Linked DNA regions of Homo sapiens: regions 1, 2, 3 and 4 are each linked to region 5. The links are contacts of gene promoters, found by promoter capture Hi-C in blood cells and fetal thymus (Javierre and others, 2016). All regions are on one chromosome and are shown on one strand. The core of a region is centred on a gene start or on the middle of the fragment in contact, and the rest is flanking DNA. Distances in the headings are between cores, read along the strand shown. Region 1 overlaps TOP1 (DNA topoisomerase I). Region 2 overlaps PLCG1 (phospholipase C gamma 1). Region 3 overlaps TOP1 (DNA topoisomerase I). Region 4 overlaps TOP1 (DNA topoisomerase I). Region 5 holds the start of ZHX3 (zinc fingers and homeoboxes 3).

What was found. The method cuts DNA at HindIII sites, captures the fragments that hold promoters and counts their contacts. A CHiCAGO score of 5 or more calls a contact.
Region 1: a fragment that was not itself captured here is called in contact with the fragment with the promoter of ZHX3 in region 5 in 9 of 17 cell types (total CD8 T cells, non-activated CD4 T cells, activated CD4 T cells and 6 more); the score reaches 12.6 in total CD8 T cells.
Region 2: a contact is called between a fragment that was not itself captured here and the fragment with the promoter of ZHX3 in region 5, in 12 of 17 cell types (naive CD8 T cells, non-activated CD4 T cells, total B cells and 9 more). The highest score is 23.4, in naive CD8 T cells.
Region 3: a fragment that was not itself captured here is called in contact with the fragment with the promoter of ZHX3 in region 5 in 9 of 17 cell types (activated CD4 T cells, total CD8 T cells, total CD4 T cells and 6 more); the score reaches 14.6 in activated CD4 T cells.
Region 4: a contact is called between a fragment that was not itself captured here and the fragment with the promoter of ZHX3 in region 5, in 6 of 17 cell types (non-activated CD4 T cells, activated CD4 T cells, naive CD4 T cells and 3 more). The highest score is 11.8, in non-activated CD4 T cells.

Annotation. Positions count from the first base shown.
Region 1 is chr20:41,086,471-41,090,641 of GRCh38, reverse strand. All of the region lies in intron 8 of TOP1 (DNA topoisomerase I), which reads right to left. Among named protein-coding and RNA genes, the nearest start is that of PLCG1, 49 kb to the left of the region's middle. The HindIII fragment of the contact is 3,822 bases long and covers 1-3,581 here.
Region 2 is chr20:41,147,986-41,152,314 of GRCh38, reverse strand. All of the region lies in intron 1 of PLCG1 (phospholipase C gamma 1), which reads right to left. Among named protein-coding and RNA genes, the nearest start is that of PLCG1-AS1, 12 kb to the right of the region's middle. The HindIII fragment of the contact is 1,108 bases long and covers 937-2,044 here.
Region 3 is chr20:41,112,230-41,116,923 of GRCh38, reverse strand. It overlaps TOP1 (DNA topoisomerase I), which reads right to left. Exons shown (of 21, transcript NM_003286.4): 14 at 3,999-4,142; 15 at 2,769-2,954; 16 at 1,485-1,553; 17 at 532-646. All of the region lies in intron 4 of PLCG1-AS1 (PLCG1 antisense RNA 1), which reads left to right. Among named protein-coding and RNA genes, the nearest start is that of PLCG1, 23 kb to the left of the region's middle. The HindIII fragment of the contact is 6,477 bases long and covers 1-4,694 here.
Region 4 is chr20:41,068,848-41,073,193 of GRCh38, reverse strand. The region is part of intron 3 of TOP1 (DNA topoisomerase I); the gene reads right to left. Among named protein-coding and RNA genes, the nearest start is that of TOP1, 42 kb to the right of the region's middle. The HindIII fragment of the contact is 5,680 bases long and covers 1-4,346 here.
Region 5 is chr20:41,315,550-41,319,636 of GRCh38, reverse strand. It overlaps ZHX3 (zinc fingers and homeoboxes 3), which reads left to right and starts at 1,906. Exons shown (of 4, transcript NM_001384317.1): 1 at 1,906-2,128. RefSeq lists an enhancer at 1,477-1,526 and silencers at 1,637-2,086, 2,097-2,386. The HindIII fragment of the contact is 7,702 bases long and covers 1-4,087 here.

The DNA.
Region 1 (4,171 bases), core at 421-2,920, 230 kb after region 5:
AATCCCAGCTACTCAGGAGACTGAGACACAAGAATCGTTTGAACCTGGGAGGTGAAGGTTGCAGTGAGCCGAGATCACGTGACTGCACTCCAGCCTGGGCAACAGAGAGACACTCTGTCTCAATAAATAAATAAACTGAACTTCACTGAACTTAAAAACTTCTGTGCATCAAAGGACACTTCAAGAGAGTGAAAGACAACTCACAGAATAGGAGAAAATATTTGTAAATCATGTATCTGATAAAGGGTTAACATACAAAATATATAAACAGCTCCTACATCTCAATAAACAACCCAATTAAAAAAATGGGCAAAGTCTCAGTCTTAAGGTGGAGGGGAAAAAAAAGATAAAATTAAAAATAGGGGCTGGGCGCAGTGGCTCACGCCTGTAATCCCAATACTTTGGGAGGCCAAAGCGGGCGGAGGGATCACTTGAGGTCAGGAGTTCGAGACCAGCCTGGCCAACATGGCAAAACTCTGTATCTATTAAAAATTCAAAAAATTAGCCAGGCGTGGTGGTGCACGCCTGTAATCTCAGCTACTCAGGAGGCTGAGGCATGAGAATCACTTGAACCTGGGAGGCAGATGTTGCAGTGAGCCAAGATTGCGCCACTGCACTCCAGCCTGGGCGACAGAGCAAGACTCCATCTCAAAAACAAAAAAAAACACGTGGGGGTGGGGCAAAGAACTTGAATGGTCATTTTTCTAAAGAAGATATACAAGTGGCCAATAAGCACCTGCAAAAATATGCAACATCAATAATCATTAGGAAAATACCAATCAAAACCACAATGAGATACCATTCATACTCATAAGGATGGCAATAAAACAAAAAATAACAAGTGTTGGTGAAGGTGTAGGGAAGCTAGCACCCTCGTGTGGTCCTGGTAGGAACGTAAAAAGGTGCAGCCAATGTGGAAAAGATAGTATGGCAGTTCCTCAAAAAGTTAAGCACAGAAATGCCACATGACCCAGCAATTCCATTCCCAGGAATATACTCAATATTCAAACAAATACTTGTACACGAATGTTTCACAGCAGCACTATCTGCAACAGCCAAAGGCAGAAATAACCCATGTCCATCAAAAGATGAATGAATAAACAAAATGCAGGACAAACAATGGAATATTATTTAGCCTTTAAAAGTCAGAAAATTCTGAAACATGCTACAATATGGACGAGCGTTGACATTCTGTTAAGTGAAATGAGTCAGTCACAAAGGACAAATACTGTATGACTATTAATACAAGGTACCTAAAGTAGTCAAATTCATAGAGACAGAAAGTAGAATGGTGCTTACCAAGAACTGGGGGAATAGGCTGGGCACGGTGGCTCACGCCTGTAATCCCAGCACTTTGGGAGGCCAAGGCGGGCAGATCATCTGAGGTCTGGAGTTTGAGACCAGCCTGGCCAACATGGCGAAACCCCGTCTCTACCAAAAATATAAAAAATTAGCCGGGAATGGTGGTGGGAGCCTGTAATCCCAGCTACTTGGGAGGCTGAGGCAGGAGAATTGCTTGAACCCAGGAGGCGAAGGTTGCAGTGAACTGAGATCACACCACTGCACTCCAACCTGGGCGACAGAGCGAGACTCTGTCTCAAAAAAAAAAAAAAAAAAAAAAGAACTGGGGCAACAGAGAAGTGGGGAATTGTTAATAACTACAGAGTTTCAGTTTTGCAAGATGTAGAGTTCTGGAGATGGTGATGGTGCACAACAATATGAATGTACTTAATGCCACCGAATTGTACACTTAAAAATGGTTAAGATGATAAATGTTATGTCATATGTATTTTACACAATTTAAACAAAAATATTTAACAGAATCTTAGACCTCAAAGGAATATTAAAGATCTTCTATAACTAACCTACCACTTTTTCAGGTATGAAATTGGCAGAGTCATTGATATATTAATAGAAGGATCTCAATGCAGGAAACCACCCAATCCTACAGTCTATTACTCTCCAAATAGAGAAAATATATATATATGTAGGTGTATGAGAGCATCTGCAAGGAGCCTGTCTGCAGCAGTCACAGAGTAACCGTGAGGAGATTCCGAACGCCACCCTTTCCCTTATCCTGGGACTTTGGCACCATTCTTCTCATCGACTACAGTGTTTTTATTTATTTATTTATTTTTTGAGACAGAGTCTCGCTCTGTCGCCCAGGCTGGAGTGCAGTCGCGTGATCTCCGCTCACTGCAAGCTCCACCTCCAGGGTTCACACCATTCTCGCGCCTCAGCCTCCTGAGTACCTGGGGACGACAGGTGCCCGCCACCACGCCCAGCTAATTTTGTTTTTGTATTTTTAGCAGAGACAGGGTTTCACCATGTTAGCCAGGATGGTCTCGATCTACTGACCTCGTGATCTGCCCGCTTCGGCCTTCCAAAGTGCTGGGATTACAGGCGTGAGCCACCACGCCCGGCCCTACAGTGTTTTTAAATCAAGACTCCAAACTGTTTTTACGACTCCTATTTCAACATGTGTATCCTGAAGACCCACAGCAACTTCTTTACCATTTAAGCAAATTAAGAGATTCAGCAAATCACAACACTAAACTTCAGTTTAAACAGAAAGACAGAATATCTGTTTCAGTAAGCTCATGTGACTGGGCTGACAGCTATTATTATACAAATAAAAGCAAACAGTTCTGTCCTTTTAGCCTCCCCATGAGTGCATATATCCGCCCCCCGCAATTTAAAAACAAATAAACAAACAAAAACATGTACTTAGACATCGAAATGGCTTCCCTTTGGCAGCTTGACTTGAATAATCAAGTACCAATTTAATAATAAAATTTGCTTGAAGGGGGAAAGGTGGAAAAGTGCTAGAAATATAAAGACAGGAAAGTAAACTCCATGTGCTGTTTGATATCAAGTTCCCTTGCAGTTAACAAGCACTTCACAGTATGCTATAAAACTCATATTTAATTTTTTTAAATTTAGAAATAAAGGTCAGATGCTGTAGCTTCTGAATGCTAATCCTTGAAATTAAGGGAAGTTTTTCTGGTTTGAGCAAAATGTCAATAATCCATATTCCATAAATTTCTTACCACTATCATTGACCATATATTTATGAGTCTTGGTCTTGCAACACTAATTCCTTAAAACATTATAGTCCTGACTCATCACAGCATTTTACCTTTGCTAAGAGATTGAAAACTCCATTTAAAGTCACACCTAACACCTGCAATAAACTCGCCAGGTAATTCTTTATGAAGAATCATCTGTTGAGAATTAACTGGCAACTTATATTCCCAGGTCAGCCCTGACACAAAAGTGTACTTAATTAACCCAACAGTGCTGAAACCCTGTTCAGCTACAATGGCCAACAGTTAAAAATCAGGACATCTGGGATAAACAGGATTTCATGTATGAACCCAAGCACACTGCCACCACTTATAACAATGTTTCTATGGAGATAACGTGATATAGCAAAGAAACCCTGAGGGACCTGGACCTTTTCCAACTGAACAATTACCAAAGGAGGGAGATAAAGATCAGAGTAAGTGGTTTTTTCTGGTAAAGACAAACAGGTCTGCGGACTTACGAGGGAAGAAAAAGATCTGCAAATTTGTCAAGCTTGTAAAGTGTGTACTTCTTTTAGTAGGATAGCATAAGGAATAGTAAAAATAAGGGTATCTGCCATTTAACTCCCCGACTAGGTCATCAGTGGCAGTCACTGAGGACTGGATAACTGACTTCAGAGTATGATACACAGCCTCTAGCTATCAGTTAAGAGGCTCTTCATTCATATTTTCAACACCAAAAACTCGGTGTGCCATTCAAGCACTGTGCTTGAAAAGAATGTGCAAGGTTTAACCATCACACCTGAGAAATGCATGCGTTAGAAGCTGTAGCAAAGTCTGCTCATTCCTCAAAAAACAACTTTTAGTTAAAGACTAGCCAGTTCCCCTTTAACCCAAAATAAGAATAAAAACCAAAAGTCATGGTCTGTCAGAGTGAATGTGTGGCAACACTGATAAGGATTTCAACCACAAAAGCAAAATTAGGCTCCTAAACCCCTCAAGGGCACCTAATTCTACACATACAAGGCTGGACCCAGCGCACTTGCCTGGATCCCAAAAAGAGCCAAAGCTCCGAAGTAAAGGGGAGACAGCAGGGAGCTCCTGATAAGGAAATGTATTTGTTCATTTAACAAGCATTTATTGAG
Region 2 (4,329 bases), core at 241-2,740, 170 kb after region 5:
AACAGTAAAAGCAGCAGGATGCCGAGCACCCACGCCCTGCTGGGCCCGAAGCCAAGACCATGAGGAGATTCAGGAGAGTGGTCCCAGGGGTCAGAAGAGGTGTGTAGATCTCCAAAATGACCTCTCACCAATCACCCTCTCCACATGTAGTCTGTGGCAAACAGATGAGTCCCTCCCAGTTCCCCACTCCCATACCAAAGAAAATACACAGCCAGGACCTAGGAGAGCATTAATGGAGCTAAGCCTTCTCCACCAGAGGATGCTGAAAGATGGACAAAGAAAAGTTCCAGCAGAAGTGAGTATCATCTGGGCCACTTCTGGCCCCCTACCTCAGTCACCCCATCCCCAGGTTCCTATACAACTCCCTGTGGGGTACGGCAGGCACTGCACTGCAGATCCCCCTTCACAGGCAGCCAGAGGCACAGGGGCTCTGCACCCATCAGGACCATACGGCTTTGGCAAGGTTTTTGCAGCTCTGAAGGAAAAGGATGGAGGTAGCCAAAGAAGAGACAAAGATAGGACCTGGACACAGGTGGGAAGGAAGCCTGATGCAATAGTAGCCAGGTCACAGGATGGTCAGCATTTCCAAGCTGGCTGCATATGCCCAAAGCCTGTGGAAAGGGTGAGAGTTCTCCTCTCCCTCTCATTCCTCCCTCTTCCTGAGACTATAATATTCCTCCTCCTGCCTCTCAGTAGAAACATACTCACAAATCTGAGGTTTCCCTGAGCACATCTGGCTGCCACCAAAGGAAGGTCAAAGTGGAGGGGTGGGTAGCTATCCCTTTCCATTTTACAAACAAGGATCTGGGTTCAGGGACTTCTGAGGTCACAGGGTTATATGGCAAAGGGAAGGCGATGGTGGGGCTTACTGTCCTTCCCATTACTGTGCAGCAGCTGCCTTCAAACCAGACCCGCGGGCAGCGAGTTGGACAAGCTTGGTCTAGATTCTAGACAAATCTCTTTGAAACAATGAGGAAACAGAGGGTCCAAAGGGTCTTGTCATGGTCATATGGTGAGTCATGGCAGAACTGGGACACTCTGCAGTGTCCCCACAGCAGCTGCTATCCCTGACACTGGGTATACAGAGAAACACAGAGCAGCCACAGCCAGCCTTTGTACCATCCAGGCAGGCAGCCCTCTTCCCTAGGACTCTAAATTAATCTCACCTATTTCAGAGGTAAGAACAGAATCCAAAGGAAGGAAGGGAAAGGAGGTCCCACCCAGAGAAATTAAAGCTGGAAGAGCACTCAGCAGTGATCTATTCGGCTTATGCAGTCATTCATTCCATCATCTGATCAAACATTTATCGGGCATCTATCTACTCCATGTCAGGCCCTGGGCTGGGTCCTAGGGAAACAGAGATCAATAAGGCATTTGAGTTCCTGCCTTTGAGAAAACCCCTGCCTGATGGAGGAAACAGATGGGGAAGCAGATAACTATGAGGTCATGCAACGAGTAGAACAACAGGGAGGTGTCTGTGGAGCTGAGTGTGTGTAGAGCAATGTCTTGGAGTGCTCTGTAAAAGCCAGGTCTGGAGGGCTGACAAGCACACATTGGGCAGAGGGGTTCATGGAAACCAAGACAGAGGTGCAGGAGTCCACTAAGTTCCACAAACAGGGCATTCAGAGTATCATGGATGAGAAGGGAGGGAAGATGGCCTATACCAAGCCTTGACTGCCACAGTAGGGAAAGGTGGCTTTCCCCAACTTTTCTGCACAAGCCCAGAAGATTCTCCAGGCAGCCATGGGTCAGCCTCTGTGTCAGGAGTCTAGTGTGCTCCAAACTCTGCCTCCCTTGCAGACTGATGCTGCCTAAGTTCTTTCTAGATGGCCTGTGTATGCCAGGCTCCTAGCTACAGGAGAGAGACTGGGGACCCACCAGGGCCATGTCTCAGGGATGCCCAGGACCTCAAAAGTCCCTCATAAAATGCTCCCCCACATAGTACACTCAGGCTACTTGGAGAACCAGAGCAATGGGTATAAGTCACTTTTAAAATTTTTCTTTATATTTTATAGAGATGGGGTCTCACTATGTTGCCCAAGCTTGTCTCAAACTCCTGGCCTCAAGTGATCCTCTCACTTCGGCCTCCCAAAGTGCTGGGATTACAGGTGTGAGCCACCATGCCTGGCCCATAAGTCACTCTGTTGTCCAGGCTGGAGTGCAGTGGCACCAACAGGGCTCACTGTAGCCTCTACCTCCCCAGGTGCAGGTGATCCTCCCACCTTGGCCTTTCAGGTAGCTGGGACTACAGGCAAACCACAACGCCAGGCTGATTATATTTTTTGCAGAGATGGTGTTTTGCCATGTTGCCCAGGCTGTTCTTGAACTCCTGGGCTCAAATGACTCGCCAGTCTTGGCCTCCCAAAGAGCTGGGATTACAGGCATGAATCACCGTGCCTGACCCATAAATCACTTATCTATGGTCCTCCTTCCTGACACCTCAGAGCAATCAACATGGTTGATCACGCCCTCTCTCCTTGAAGCTCTGCCCTTGATTTCTCCTGCACAACCTTGCCTGGTTTTCATGCTTCTTTGTGCGCTACAGGCCTACCTGCATTTAGCAATGGCCTTGGTCAAGGCTCAGGTCAAGGTCCTCTCTTCCGGTGCTCTGCCTTCTTCCTCATCAGTGTCAGCCATGCCCACACCCTTAATTACCTCCTATGTACAGATAATTCACAAACAGGTCTCTAGCCTAGTCCTCTCCTCTTAAGCTTCAGATCCTTCAATTCAGCTGCCTACTTGCTATCCCCACTCTTCATCTCAAAACGTCTCAAAGACAACTCCTCAAAACCAAACACTGTCTTCTCTCTCTCACCAGAACCAAGGCCTCTTGCCATACCCCCTGGGTCAGCTAAGAGCATCACCATTCAAACAGGTACCCAAACTCCAAACTTCAGAATGATCCTTCGCATCTCCTTTTCTCTCACCAGCCCCCAATCCAGCCCTCTGAGAAGTCCCACTGGCTTTATTATTCAAAATTAACCATACGTTCTGAGCACCTACATGAGAGACATTAAACTAGATACTTGGAATACAAGTACCTCAAGGAGCTTGAATGTGGAAGGAAAAATTAGATATGAGTATTATGCTAGATAGCTTACGTTAGAGTCCACAGACAAATACTATAAGAAGCTGAGAAGTAGAGGATGAAGTAGTTACTACCTCTGCTGGGTGGGAAGAGACGATGAGCAACAGCAGCATCTGGCATCCTAACACTAATTTCTTGCATATTTACTTTGCATAGACATTGCATAAAGCTCTTGATAAGACTGCCTTACAACGATAAAAACTGCCTTATATTTTATACTTGCAAATAACACTATGAAGTAAGTATTAGGGTCCCCAATTCCCGAGTGAGGAAATTGAGCACAAAGAGGTTAATTAACTTACCTAAGGTGGCAGTTGGTGAGTGGCAAAGCCAACAATACTTCAAAGCCAAGACTGCCTGTACCCTAGACGTGTGCTCTGTAATGCCTCAGAATCCTTGTTGGAAGTGGCCAAGCAGGGCCAGCACAGACAGAAGGGGAGGATGGAGAGGACTCCAGGTTTCGTGGTGCACTCCTGCTTCACAGTATTTATTATAGTAGCCATACATGTATTTTAAGGCTGTCTGATTGTTTTCTCCACTAGAGCGTAAACTCCTTGAGAGACTGCACCATGTCTGCCATCTTCAATGCTCCATGCCTACCAGGAACTTAATAAGGTTTTGGGGACCTTATTCAAGAAAAATACTATGAAAGCATCACTGCTATATAACCTGTTCCTGCTCACTAGATAAATGAGGCCCTCCTGACCACAGCCCAGCATATCTCCAAGTCTCTCTCTGCTGCCCTGTCTCTGCAGAGCCCTCTCACAAGGGAGAGGAAATGGAATGGGTTGGGAGAAGAAATAAAAATCTGGGGTCTCCCTCCTACAAGGAAACAACAGGGGCCTAGGACTCATAGTGGTGGGGGAAGCGTCAGAGCAACAGGGGCTGAGGTAGGGAGACAAGTGGGAAAGGGAGAATAGAGGCCTTCCCCTCTGCCACTCCCTGAACCCCATGACATCTCACCACCCCAACCTTGGTTCCTGCCTCTTTGGTTTCTGTGTTACTGCCACCTCTTGGACAGTAAATGTTGGTTTAGTCCTTAAGCCTCCAACAGAGTAAATCTGTGGGGCTGGAGACGTTCTAAATAATGACCGGAAGTCGTCAGGTCAGAGGCCTGCTTGCTGAGACATCCTGCTTCAGCAGAACCCACTAGGCTCTCCTGTTTTAGAGCTACTTGACCCAGCCGCCACAGCATCTGGCTGCACTCCCTTTGCGCCATGCCAGCCCAAGCCAAGCCACTC
Region 3 (4,694 bases), core at 952-3,451, 200 kb after region 5:
ATCTGATGTATTTACAGAGGGCAGTGGAAATTCAATAGTGACTGGGCTCCAGGAAAAAAAAAGCCCGTGGATCTTGGTGATAATATTCTAAAAATCAGCTATAGAAAGTATCTACTCTCTTATGGGAAAAAAATGACAGAAACCTCAAGGAAAGGACTTGTTCCTGTATTTTTCTGGTAACCATGACAACTTTACTCTCTCCAATTTAACAGAACATCACAGCACTGTCTTCACTCTGTGGGCTTTTAAGTAATATATGTATAAAACACAAATGCAGGCATTTTTGTAGCAGGTGAAAAGCTGTCAGCATTCCATGAAATTAATCTTGAAGTTGGGGTGGGAAGGGGGAAACAGCATTGATCCTATGTTTATACAACAAAGCATTATCTCGCTACTAGAGGTCTAAAGGGAAAAAGTGTCTGACCACAATGGTAGGGAAAAAAAGTAGAACTGACTCTAGGCCTTAGATAAGCAAGGTCACCGGATACCATTAGTAGGGGTGTGGGCCCTATCTGGCCAAGCAATACTTACGGGCTGTCAGTTCTTTTAGCTGCTGCTGTAGCGTGATGGAGGCATTGTATGTACGGAATACCTTGGCTGTCAAGCCCTCCATGAGATCCTGAAGATGCTTATTCAGAATACCAGTCTGGAGGAGACAAAGCAACAGATTTAGGTCAAAGCTATACTACCTGCTCCTTCTGGCAGCCCTAGGAGTAATTTATGCCAGTGCAGTCACAATCTTGTCAAGTTTATTGCCCTACAAGTGGGAAGTTAGGGAAAGAGGAAAAGAATTCCAGAATACAGGGTTACATGATGCCTCTCTATGAAGTATTTCAATCTTTGTGTGTGTGTATGACAGGGTCTCACTCTGACACCCAGCCTGGAGTGCAGTGGTACAATCTCGGTTCACTGCTGCCTCCACCTCCCGGGCTCATGCAATCCTTCTGAGGCTCCTAAGCAGCTGGGACTACAGGTGTGGACTACCACACCTGGATAATGGTTTTGCCATGTTGCCCAGGCTGGTCTCAAACTCCTGACCTCAAGGGATCTGCCCTACTTGACCTCTCAAAGTGCTGGGATAACAGGCGTAAGCCACCAAGCCTGGCCCAGGTTGGTGGGCTTAACAAACCAATAAAGCAAATTTTTCCTTCCCTATTAAGATATCAGGGACAGGTTTTGGGTCTCCAGCAGGGGTGGCTGGGCATTCAGTGAAGGGAAAGCTCTGCAGGAGCAGGGAAGGATAAAAGGTAGGGCTCATCTACCCCCCACCCTGAGTGCTTTAGCAGTTGTTCTGCAGCAGATGTGTCTTCTCTTGACTACAGATTCACCGTGGACTCAGAGGGAGGAAGAGAGAGTGTATGGGATGCCACAGAGCAGGCCAGGCTAAAGGGAGAGCCCAAGTCATCTGCCAGCAACCCTCCCCTTTAGGTACTGTGAGGCTCTGGCTGGGACTCCCTTCAACATTGTGTGCTTCATCTACTCACATTGAGTCTATCAAAAAGATCATCCTCGGGCTGCTTGTTCTCCATAAATAGTTGTAGGTTCTTAAAAACCTAAAAGATATAAGTGAATCCTAATTATTACTCTTGAAAAAAATCCTAACTTTAGAAATAACCCCAAACTTAAAGAAACTTGCAAAGAAAAAGGCACAAGGAACACGCATACATCCGTCACCGAGATTCACTGTTAACATTTTACCCCATTCATCATTTGCACAGTGTGCATGTATGCTCACTCTCTCCATGTGTATATTTACAGATATATATACATAATTGTTTGTTCTGAGCCATTTATAAGCACTTACTTATAATATGGTCCTAAAGTACATTTATAAGTACTTACTTATAATATGGTCCTAAAGTACATTTATAAGTACTTACTTATAATATGGTCCTAAACATTTCAGTGTGTATGTTCTAAAAATAGATATTCCCTTACATTTACACAGTATCAGCTTCAAAAATTTACATTGATACATACTGTTATCTAATCTGTCCAGAGTACTTCCACAGCCAGCAAAACCTGATTACTGATTATGGTGTCCTTATGAGAAGAGGTGTCTTTATAAGAAGAGGACTGCTGGTGGGCTGGATTATTAGGATCCTGCACACTGTAAGTCTCTGGTTCAAGCCCAATACTATGGAAAAGATTAGGTTGGGACTACAGAGCTATAGTACCCTCTTCAGTGATGGGCTCAGAGATCTGGGGACTAACATTAACCTTTCACTCAGTCAGGAGTTGGAGAAAGGCTGAGCAAAGATGAAAAGTGACAAATGTACCACATGACCAGGGGATACTAAGATATAGTTAAATCATATGCTGAGTTTGCTCTAAGGGCCTATTCTACAGCATGCTCCATTGAATACTGCTATAGGAGAAGGCCACTCCTTACCAGGAAGGTAGCACAGGGCGGAACAGTGACTAAAAGGAGGTACACAAGATATCAAATAATACCTCTCCCCTCTTTCAAGTCATTTATTTTTATTTATTTTAATATGAGAGGCAAGGTCTCACTATTTTGCCCAGGCTGGAGTACAGTGGCTATTCACAGGTGTGATCACAGCACACTACAGCCTCAAACTTTTGGTCTCCAGTGATCCTCCTGTCTCAGCCTTCTGAATAGCTGGGTCTACAGGCATGTGCCATGTTGCCTGTCTCAAGTCACTTTTGCTGGTGCCCAGCAAAGTGCAAAGCACACAAAAAAGCAGTCAACCCATGCTTGTTGAATAATGGAAAACAAGTCAGACAGTACAGGTACATTAACTTACTCGTTTCTCAACAGGGACCTTGTTATAGTATCTGATGGAGTCCTTCCCGAGGAAGTCAAACTCTACCACATATTCCTGACCATCCAACTCTGGGTGTAGATTGATGTGCTCCACACGAAGTGAGCAGCAGCCCACAGTGTCCGCTGTTTCTCCTTCCTCCTTTTCATTGCCTGCTCTCAGAGCAAGCTGCCCAGGAAAGAAAGAAAAGATGAGCATGAATGGAAGAGACATGATCCTTACACAATTTCGTTCTGTGTTTTTTTTTTTTTTTTTTTTGAGACAGTCTCGCTCTGTCGCCAGGCTAGAGTGCAATGGCGCAATTTTGGCTCACTGCAAGCTCCGTCTCCCGGGTTCATGCCATTCTCCTGCCTCAGCCTCCGAAGTAGCTGGGACTACAGGCGCCCGCCACCACGCCAATTTTTATTTTTTTTTTTTTTTTTGTATTTTTAGTAGAGATGGGGTTTCACCACATTGGCCAGGATGGTCTCTTGACCTCGTGTTCCACCTGCCTTGGCCTCCCAAAGTGCTGGGATTACAGGCGTGAGCCACTGCGCCCAGCCTTTTGACCCTTATGCAATTTCTAGGCATCCAAAACAGAAGCCTCCCAATTCTGTTTGAAGCCACAGCATCAGTCAGCATGGCCTGGGAACTCTGGATTCTGCAGTGTTACTTCCTCCCCCACTCACTATGAAATCTATAGGGATGTTAAATATTCATGCTCCTTTTCTTTCTATTCTGTCCTCTGAAATAGGGATGGAGAAAAGGAAAAAAAAAATTAAATAAGGCAGCAAATGAGGGAGTGCTGCTACTCTGGGCAATCAAACTCAAAAAGCTAGTGTGAATTTTGAGACAATTCAGAACTTATGTTAAAATACAAGACTGGGGGAAAAACATGAACTTTTTTTTCTTCTCGTGAGTACCAAGAAATTGATCTCCTCTAGAGCGTGGTCTTTAAAACTATATAATGGTGATACCTGCATGGTTTATTTAAACAATTTTATAAGTTATAACCAACTTTCTAAAGGAATGAAATAGAGTTAAAAAAAGATCAGAATCTACTGCTCACAGTAAGGCTAAGCATTGTTTTGTGCAACTTTTGATTCAGTTTTACATACAAATATATGTATGTTGAGTTGTGATATACAGTATGTGGCACAGGGCCTGGGGCAGAGCAGAAACTCCCTTTGTTAAGCTCAACACTAGACAATGCCGATGGGAAGATGCTCTCACCTTGTCGATGAAGTACAGGGCTACAGCTCTCTGCCGGACTTTCATCTCTTTGGACTTCCAGTCTTCTCGATACTGGTTCCGGATCTTGTCCACACATTTTTTCAGCCGCCGAGCAGTCTCGTATTTCTGCCAGTCCTTCTCACCCTGTAAAGACCCAAACCCAAATGTAGATTACTTTGGGACAGTGTAGTAAAGACAGACTTTGAATATAGCCAGGCAAGGTGGCGCAAGCCTATAATCCCAGCTAGCTAATAGGGAGGCTAAGACACAAGAATTGCTTGAACGCAGGAGGCAGAGGTTGCAGTGAGCCAAGATCACGCCACTGCACTCCACCATGGGTGACAAAGCAAGACTTTGAACAAAAGAGCAGGAACTTGACCTTAAGCAAACGTAAAAAAGAATAGTACTGAAGAGAGAGTTTGGCACATTTAACCTGTTAAGAATGCACATTGTCCCATCTCACTGCCAAGCACAACTGACTTCTAAGGCTTTCCCAGAAGAAAGTTTCTAGCTCTAATTCTCTAAAATGTTTATGTTCCTGGGAAAAACCCACATGGGATGTCCCAAAAACTAACTTCTGTCAACACAAAGCACATAATCACCCCCATTCCCACATCAATTTCACAGCCTTGCTGCCAACTCTGTGACCCAATAGCAGTTTTCTACCAGGACTGAATTCCATTAAATCTAAGTGAA
Region 4 (4,346 bases), core at 655-3,154, 250 kb after region 5:
GGTACCTACAAGTGTACATGTAGCCCTGCGGTTTTCAGCTTTGCTGTACATTATCACACCAAACAGAGATCAGGGAAAAGGAATCAACAAATGACAAGGCAAATGAGACATTTGCCAGGAAGCCAAAAGTCAACGATATTTCCTCTGCCTGCTAACCAGAAAGAGATGTATATAGGAAATTCAAAGTTCCTGCTAGAGTAGTAAACCCCTTTGTAGGTCACAATTAATCACAAAAACCAGAATGGGATGAAGCTATCATCCTGACTTTCCAAAGGAAGCCAAGTCTCCTCTACTCCTAACTGTTTAGGCATAAGAGCAGATTTGCATTTTTATACTAGCTGAATACAGATGATTGAGGGTTAAGGACAGCTTCTATTACAGGGCATTACATTGGAGACTGTTAGAAATTTGGGTTTATAGAGCTCCACCAGGCTTCTGAATACAATGTGATCATCCCTACTTGTCAGGTGCTGTTACCGTCCCTGCCTCCACAAATGGAGAGCAGAGTGCCTGGAGCCCAACCTGGCATCCATAACCCCCAAACCGGCAGGAGTGCTGGCAAAGAGCAAACCCCACTGCCAATCTTTCCTAGGAATGTGCCTGAAGGAAGTAGCAAAGGCGCTGGGGAACAAGTCCTATGATACAGAAGCATGTCCAGGGCTGTGCCAGGAAAGTCAGAAACAGGATTTGGCCAGCATATAAAATGGAGTCAATGTGGGGTCAGTCAGGCTGACTCATCCATTTGAGATTTTCTAACATGTATGTCTTTTTCCAAAAGGCTTAGGATATGTTTGACTTTCATGGTAGCTAAAGAACTGTACTTTCCTCATTAACAGTGAAATGATGGAAATTCTGACCAATGCAGAAAGTTCATTTGCTGGCTGCCTGTTTTAAGAGATACTGTATTATCTTCATACTGATCCTGCTACTTTTCCATACACAATAGACACAATATGTCAAAGTCACAAAAGGGCTTTAAAAGTACAATTGTAGGCTATAATATTAGCCAGGTTAGAGGCTGAAAAACAGATGATTAATTACTGAAGAAACTTCAGTAGGGCTAAATTAGAAAAATGCTAGATACCCTGAAAGGATAAAAACCTTCAGGGTTGCCTTTTTTGTCTCCCCATTTTGTCTTCTAAGAGTAGAAGAAAGGCTTAATATCAACCATAGGAAGGAAACCAAAGGTTGGACAAACATATTTTAAGAGTAAGTTTAGTCTGGGATATGCTGAAGGACAAAAATACAGACAGTAGCAGTCCTAGAACTTCTGCAATGGTCACACTTATGGATGAAATATGAATTTACCCCATGGGCATGAGGAACTCTGAACGAGAAAACAACCAATTATTGGCTAGGCATAGATGCTGACTTCTTGGTTCATAGTTTGCATCTGTATGGGGTAAGATTCCAACACACTAGCAGGGACTAGAAAGCAAAAGTCAGCGCTAAAGAGAACAAATGGAAAGATCCAAAGCCACCTTTCCAGAGTGTTCATGCCATGTGTTATGCTTCAATTGGCTGAATTCCACTAAAGAAAAAATAATCTGGCTGGGCGTGGTGGCTCATGCCTGTAATCCTAGCACTTCAGGAGGCCGAGGCGGGCAGATCACCTGAGGTCAGGAGTTCGAGACCAGCCTGGGCAACACAGTGAAACCCCATTTCTACTAAAAATACAAAAATTAGCTGGGCGTGGTGGCACATGCCTGTAATCCCAGCTACTGGGGAGGCTGAGGCAGGAGAATCACTTGAACCAGGGAGACAGAGGCTGCAGTGAGCCGAGATCACGCCACTGCACTCCAGCCTGGCGATAGACTGAGGCTCCATCTCAAAAAAAAAAAAATTTAAAAAAAGGAAAGAAAAAAATAACTTACACTATTTTTAAAGTGATGACAGCAAAACCTTTGGTCTATGATTCTTGTTGGAGCTAAGCAGACCACAGAAAAGGGTGACCAGAGTTTCTCTAAGGCACTTATATAGAAGAGTGGGAGAAACGGTGGAAGTAGGGAGCCAGTAGGGAACAATGTCTCCCTTCTGGCGAAGCACTGTTTCTTTAGGAAAAAAGACCACCGCTACCACAACAAAATACTGATATTCTGGAAAGCTAGAATGTTGGCTATGGGAAACCATTTAAATCTGTCCTCTATCCCCCATAAAAGTATTTAACAGATACTTGAGTAGCACCCAGTGCCAAGCACTCATCTAAGCACATTTGATATCGGTAACAAAACTCAGGTAACTACTGGTATCTTCATTTCACAGATGTGGAAACTGAAGCACAGACAAGTTAAGTAACTCACCCAAGGAACTACCTCTAAAGAGAGAAACAGGATTTAAACTCAGGCAGTCTGGCTCCAGGGTCATGCACTTGACTACTCTGTTACTTCCCAAACAAAGCAAAAAAGCACTGTTAAAGGTAGAAGGAGCCTCCACATATTCTGAGAAAAGGACTTAGCCACTAACAGCCCAGCTACCTGTCTACTCCTCAAGGCAGCAGACCTCTGCAGGTCACATGAAGTTGGATCATGGGGATTCCTGTGAGACAGCACAGAGAGCTTCAAAGTCTTGGTTTAGGAGGGAAACTCATGACCCTTTCAAGGATAGTAGACAGTTAAATCTTAAATGATATTTGTTAAATTAAATATTTAAGTAACTTCAAAAGTTGCCTCTGGGAAAAGAGCGCAGCTTCTGAAATGAGCCAGTTTCCAAAAGGCACTAAGAAACAAGGGTTCCTTAATGTCCATCATCATTACACACTACAATGCCGATTATATATCTCTAAACAAAATCACAAGGACTCCGGCGTTTTATATTATAGAAGTATCAAAACTTCAAGGTAAATGTAATTTCCTAGAAATTATTTAATCCTTTGTTTTCAGGCCAGAGAGGATAAAAGGATGTGCCCAAAGATGGCAAAACCGATACCCATTCTAACTCCCATTCCTCCCTTAAGTTCTTTGTCTCTATTAATAGCGTGAACAGCCACCCAGTTATCCAAGACAGGAACCCTTTTTCTTAGACCCTTCATGTCATTTGTAGCTAAGTCTTATATCCACTTTGCTCAAGTATTTCCAGTGGCTTCTTGCTCAGCTCAGAATCGAGTCCCAACATTTCCCCCCGATTTTTAGTTAGTGTAAGTAACAAGTTCCAACTTTTTGAAATGGCATTTAATAGTTTTGCCTCAAGCCACTTTTTTGGGTCTCATTTTCTACTATTCCACCCTGTGTAACCCACCTAACTAGATTCCTCCCAGAACAAAGCATATACTACAATGCCTCTATGTTTTGCTTATGTTTTTCTTTCTAACCATTACTTTCCGTTAGCAAAATTTTAACCATCTTTGAATGGCTAGCTCAAATGCTGTCTCCACCATGAAATCTTAAAAACAATGATTATGGCGTACTATGATAGGGATAAATATAATATTGAAAATATCAGGGCTCCAAATTGAATGCTATCAATAACTACTGAATTAGATTCAACTACCAAACTCAAGAGCTCCAATTTATCTGCATGATATTATACTAGGCTTTGCGGTAATTATCATCATCACCATCATTATCTCAATTATTTAGTATGTTACAGTTCCCAAAGAGCTGTCATGTGCATAAACAAACTTGAAAGATTGATAAAGCAGGTACTGTTATCAACCCTTGACCAAAACAGAAAATGAGACCCAGAGAAGTTAAGCACCTTGGATCACGACACGTAGCTTATAAATGACAGAACCCAGCCTCTTAACTTTTATCTTAGTGTGCTATTCAATATATCATACTGACTCCCATGTGAATGGTGGTGGTACTGAGTTTCCTCATTTCCAAACTGTTCAATCTTCTCTGCCTACCCATGTTAGTTGTCCATTTCCCACAGACAGGATGATATAGTGATGTGTAGACAAAGGGAGGGCTTTGGCAAACCACTCACAAGGAAAGCAGCAAACATATCTTTTAAATTTTATTAATTTCAGAAAAATCTCCCCTAATCTGAGAACTAGATGCGTAATTCAAGTGCATATTCCTAAAATCCTACATTCTCTCAATTACAATTCAGGTAGGATTTGGAACTAAAAGGAAAGCAGAAGCCAAAAGCATCCTTATTCTCAGATGTTTCTCACACTGACAGTACAGAATAGCACTGCCAATATGGCTGGAAAAGTACTTCCCTTGCTATTTTACAGCAGTTTTCTGTCTTCCCTTGCTTTCCACAAATTTGTCACTCCAGTGTGAATGCCAGGTTTAAAATTGGCAAGAGATGCACAGAGTCGAAAACTAGGAGGAATTTCATTTCACACGATTCTCTTATTTTCTAAAATCAAGCCCCCCTCCCAAATTGCTTTTAATAATATT
Region 5 (4,087 bases), core at 657-3,156:
TGGAGTTGGGACTTGATACTTTAGTAGAGTGGTCTGGGAAAGTCTGGGGAGGTGACTTTTGAGTAGAAACTTGGAAAGCACACGCCTTTCTGATATCTGGAGGAAGCAACACCAAGTACAGAGGTTCTGAAGTAGAAGTGAGCCTCCATATTCCAGGAGCAAGAAGGAGGCTAGTGTGCCTGGCATGCAATGAGGAGGCCGAGTGGAAGGAGGTGCAGTTAGAGAGGTGGAGAGTATAAGTGGACGAAGGGCAGACACATAGGATCTTGGAAGCCTTTGGGAAAAAAACCACATTTTGGAAATGAAAAAAATAGGTGGGCATGGTGGCGTGCACCTGTAGTCCTAGCTACCTGGGAGGCTGAGGTGGGAGGATTGCTTGAGTTTGGGAGGTTGAGGCTGCAGTGAGCTGTGATGGGGCCACTGCACTCTAACCTGGGAGACAGAGTGAGACTGTGTCCCACTCTCCACCCCACTGCCCCCATATTTTTTTTTTTTTGGCTTTTACTCTGAGATGGGAAACCTTCTGGGGGCTTTTGAGCTTAGGTTTCAACAGGATCCCTCTGGCTTCTGTGTTGAGAGAAGGCACCATGAGAGCACAGTGGAATCGTGGAGAACAGGCAGGAGGCTACTACAATATTCCAGGAAAGAGGAAAAGGGGTATTTTAAAGGTAGAGCTGACAGGCTTTTCTAATGGGTTGCATGTGGGATATGATAGGGAGAGTGGAGTCCAGGATGACTCCAATGGTTTGTCTGGAGTCATCAGAAGAATGGAGTTGACATGAACTGAGGTAGGGAAGGTTGTGAAAGGAGCAAGCTAAGGTGCCACGTATGGGTGTTTGACTATCGACTTGTTTACTTGGACACATCGCTCACACTTGTGTATATGCTCCCTGGTTTTCAGGATCTGAAGGTTCTAAAGTTACTTGAAGTTAAAGGCAGCCTTACTTATTGAACACCAAGCACTGTGCAGAAATCTTTATATGTGGTGTCATTTAACCCTTTTAATATTTCTACTGATTTACTCATGTTTCATTGCCCTTTTACAGTTGAGAGATTAACACGTCCAAAGTCACTCAGACAATTATTAACCTGCTAGATTAATGCAGATCTGGGATTCCCATCCAGGTGTGTCAAGACCGTAGAGCTCCTGCTGTTTACTAATCACTGGATTCTAAAGGTGGGAGCCACTTTCTGAGCATATTTGCTGCAGACTTGGTTCCATAACTAAAAAGGTGCCTGGATCATGTGACGAGAATTCAGGAAAGAACCCAACCCCATCCCAGGCATTACAGGTTATACAACAGCTATGAAGAAAGGACGGTATTAGTGGACTCGAGGAGGCTGACTGATGTTTGAAAGTTCAAGTACTTGAAGACTCAATGTTAAAACAGTGATCAAGAGTTAGTTTTTTTGTTATTATTCTTAAGAAAACAGAAAATATTAAAAATTGCAGTGAACCCTTGGTTGGATAAAAGACCACTCCTAGTCGACGCTTGTTGGGAAACACTGGAATTGGAGGAGTGGGGGCAGACAGGAGCGAGAGCCCCTGCCAGCCTACACACACATCCTTTTGAAAGTGTAACCTGGTGTGACCTTCTTTAAGTGGTCCTCTGGAAAGAGCAGGATATGGAGTACAAAAGCCAGGAACCTCTGGGACCGCAGCATCCGCCCCCAGCGCCTCCTTCCCCGTCTTCTTCAGCCTCCACACGGTGGGGCGGGGAGGAGGGGGGAGGAGGAGTGCTGGCGCATGCGCCGGGGGCAAGGTCCGCTCCCCGCGACGTCAGGGGGCTCGCACCCGCTCGAAAGCCCCGCCCCGCGGCCGCCAGAGGCGACCTGGGCGGACTGGGGGGCCTGGGCCACGCCCCCAGCCGAGTCGAGCAAGGCCGAGGGGAGCCGTGCAAGGCCGAGCAGAGCCGAGCGCCTCCGAGAGCGGCCGAGCCCAGCCGAGCGGCCCGGAGTCGGTTGGTGCAGCTGCGTCCCCGCCGCTCAGCAGTCCGCGGCTCCGGCGTCGCCGCCGCCGCCGCCTCTGCGGGGCCTGCGCCGGCCGCCCGCCCGGCCGCGGGGAGGGAGGCCCGCAGCGCGGGAAGAGCGGCCCGGTCGCGGGCGCCGCCACCGCCGCCGCTGCCAGGTGAGCGCCCGCCACGGCCAGCCGGCCCCGCGTGCCCCCGCGGCTGTCAGTCCCCGGTGTCTGTATCTCTCTCTGCCTGTCAGACCCTGTGTCTGCGCGAGCTCCTTCCCGCCACGCCTGGCCCGCGGCCGGCCCGCAGTCTCAGTCAGCCCCCTCCCGCCGGCTGCCCCTGGTCTTTCTGTCAGCCGCCAGCACCCCCATGCTGAGAGGCTCCGCCCCTTCCCCCCGGAGCCCCGCCCTCCGCCATCTGTCATCACCCCCCGGGCTCCAGGAGCGGGCGTCCAGGGGTCCTAGGGGTCAGGGTAGCCCCGCGTGCCACCATCGTAGAAGGCGCAAAAGGGGGTGGTAGAGGGGAAGCGGGGGCGTTCGCGCAGGCCCGCCTGACCGTGTGAGAGTGCATGCCCGAGTGTGCGTTCCGCGTGTGCACCCGAGAGCCGCCTGCGTCCACGCCCGAGGGCCCTTGCACTCTGCTGGGATGTGGCAGCCCATGCCCCCGGTGTAAAGAGCGTCAGCTCGACCAGTGAAGGCGGCAGAGCCAGGACTCGAACCACTCGGGGTACAGTAGCACCCTGAATCTTGGGACCCTTGTCTGCCCACGCGAAAACACTACACGTGGGCCCCAGGTCCTCGGATTCCCTGAGTGGCGTGTGAGTGGAGTTTGGAGCTTGTTAAGCCTTCCCAGTTTGGGATTTTCATTCAGGGAAGCCTGTTGGAAGTGATTGAGGAGTGGATGGGATGTAGGACTTAGGTGGGGAGTGTTTGAGGGCTTGAGTCATTTTGAGTTGCATGGTTTACATTTCTGAGCAGTGATTGCCCTGGGCTTGTGCCCTGCGAGAAACTTATGTGACTTGGGGTGGGGGAGTGAGGTAGGAAGGAATGCTCCTTTCTGTTTTTATCTATGTGAACACATAGTATATATTTATCCAGATATCCTAAATGTTTATTCATGAGGCGTCCACACGTCCTTAATTTAAAAAAGGATTACAGTAGTTTCCATTTATACACGTTCTTGTGTGTTGTTATCTCAATGCTCTTTATTTGTGGTAACTTAGTATTGCAATATTTCAAAACTAAGAGAAAATGCATCCTAAAACAATTGGTATTTTGCCGGATAATTCTGAACCACGGAGAAGGAGCCAAAAGCGCACTTCATTAGCTGGAACAACTTATTCGAGCTTAATTTGTTTCTAAGAGACATACAGTGGAAAAATCCAGAAGCGCAAAATAGTATCAAAGACACATAGAAAATGAATGAAAAGGGCCCTTCTGTTGCTGCCTTGGAAAGATGGTATCAAAGTTGCTGTAGAGGACAGAGCCACTATGTAATGATCAACATATTAACCAAGTTGGTTTTGTGACCTTGATACATTGAGCGGGGCTTGATTTGTGCAGTGGTTCATGACAGGCAAACATTGCATGGGAAGTGTGGTAATTTTTGGAAAAAAATGTTCCCCATGTTGTTTTGGTTTTTGGTTTTGAGTTTGTTTTTTTTTTTTTCATATTGAAGTAAGATTTCAGACAAGGGAAGTCTCATGGTGGAGTGCTTTTTTCTTTTTAAAGATAACATTAAAAATTACCAAAGTAATTCATGTTTAAGGCAGAAAACTTGAAAAACAAAGAAAAGCATTGCAAACAAAACAAAACAAAAAAAACCCCATAATCCCACAAACCATAGTAAATCACAATTTGGTATTAAGCCTTTTAGCCTTGTTCCCATGTATACGTGTTTTTTCTTACAAAAATGCTATCATACTACACAACTTTTATTCTATGCTTTTTTTCTTTGACTTATAACTAGATTATGAGAGATACATCTTTGTTTTATGAGTAGGAACTTGTGTTTCTCTTTGCAATCCTTTAAAAAATTCAGATCATGTTAGTCCTCTGCTTAGAGCCCTCCAATAGCTTTTTGTCTTAAAGTAAACTCTGAAGGCCTTGCTGTGGCCTGCCAGGCTAACC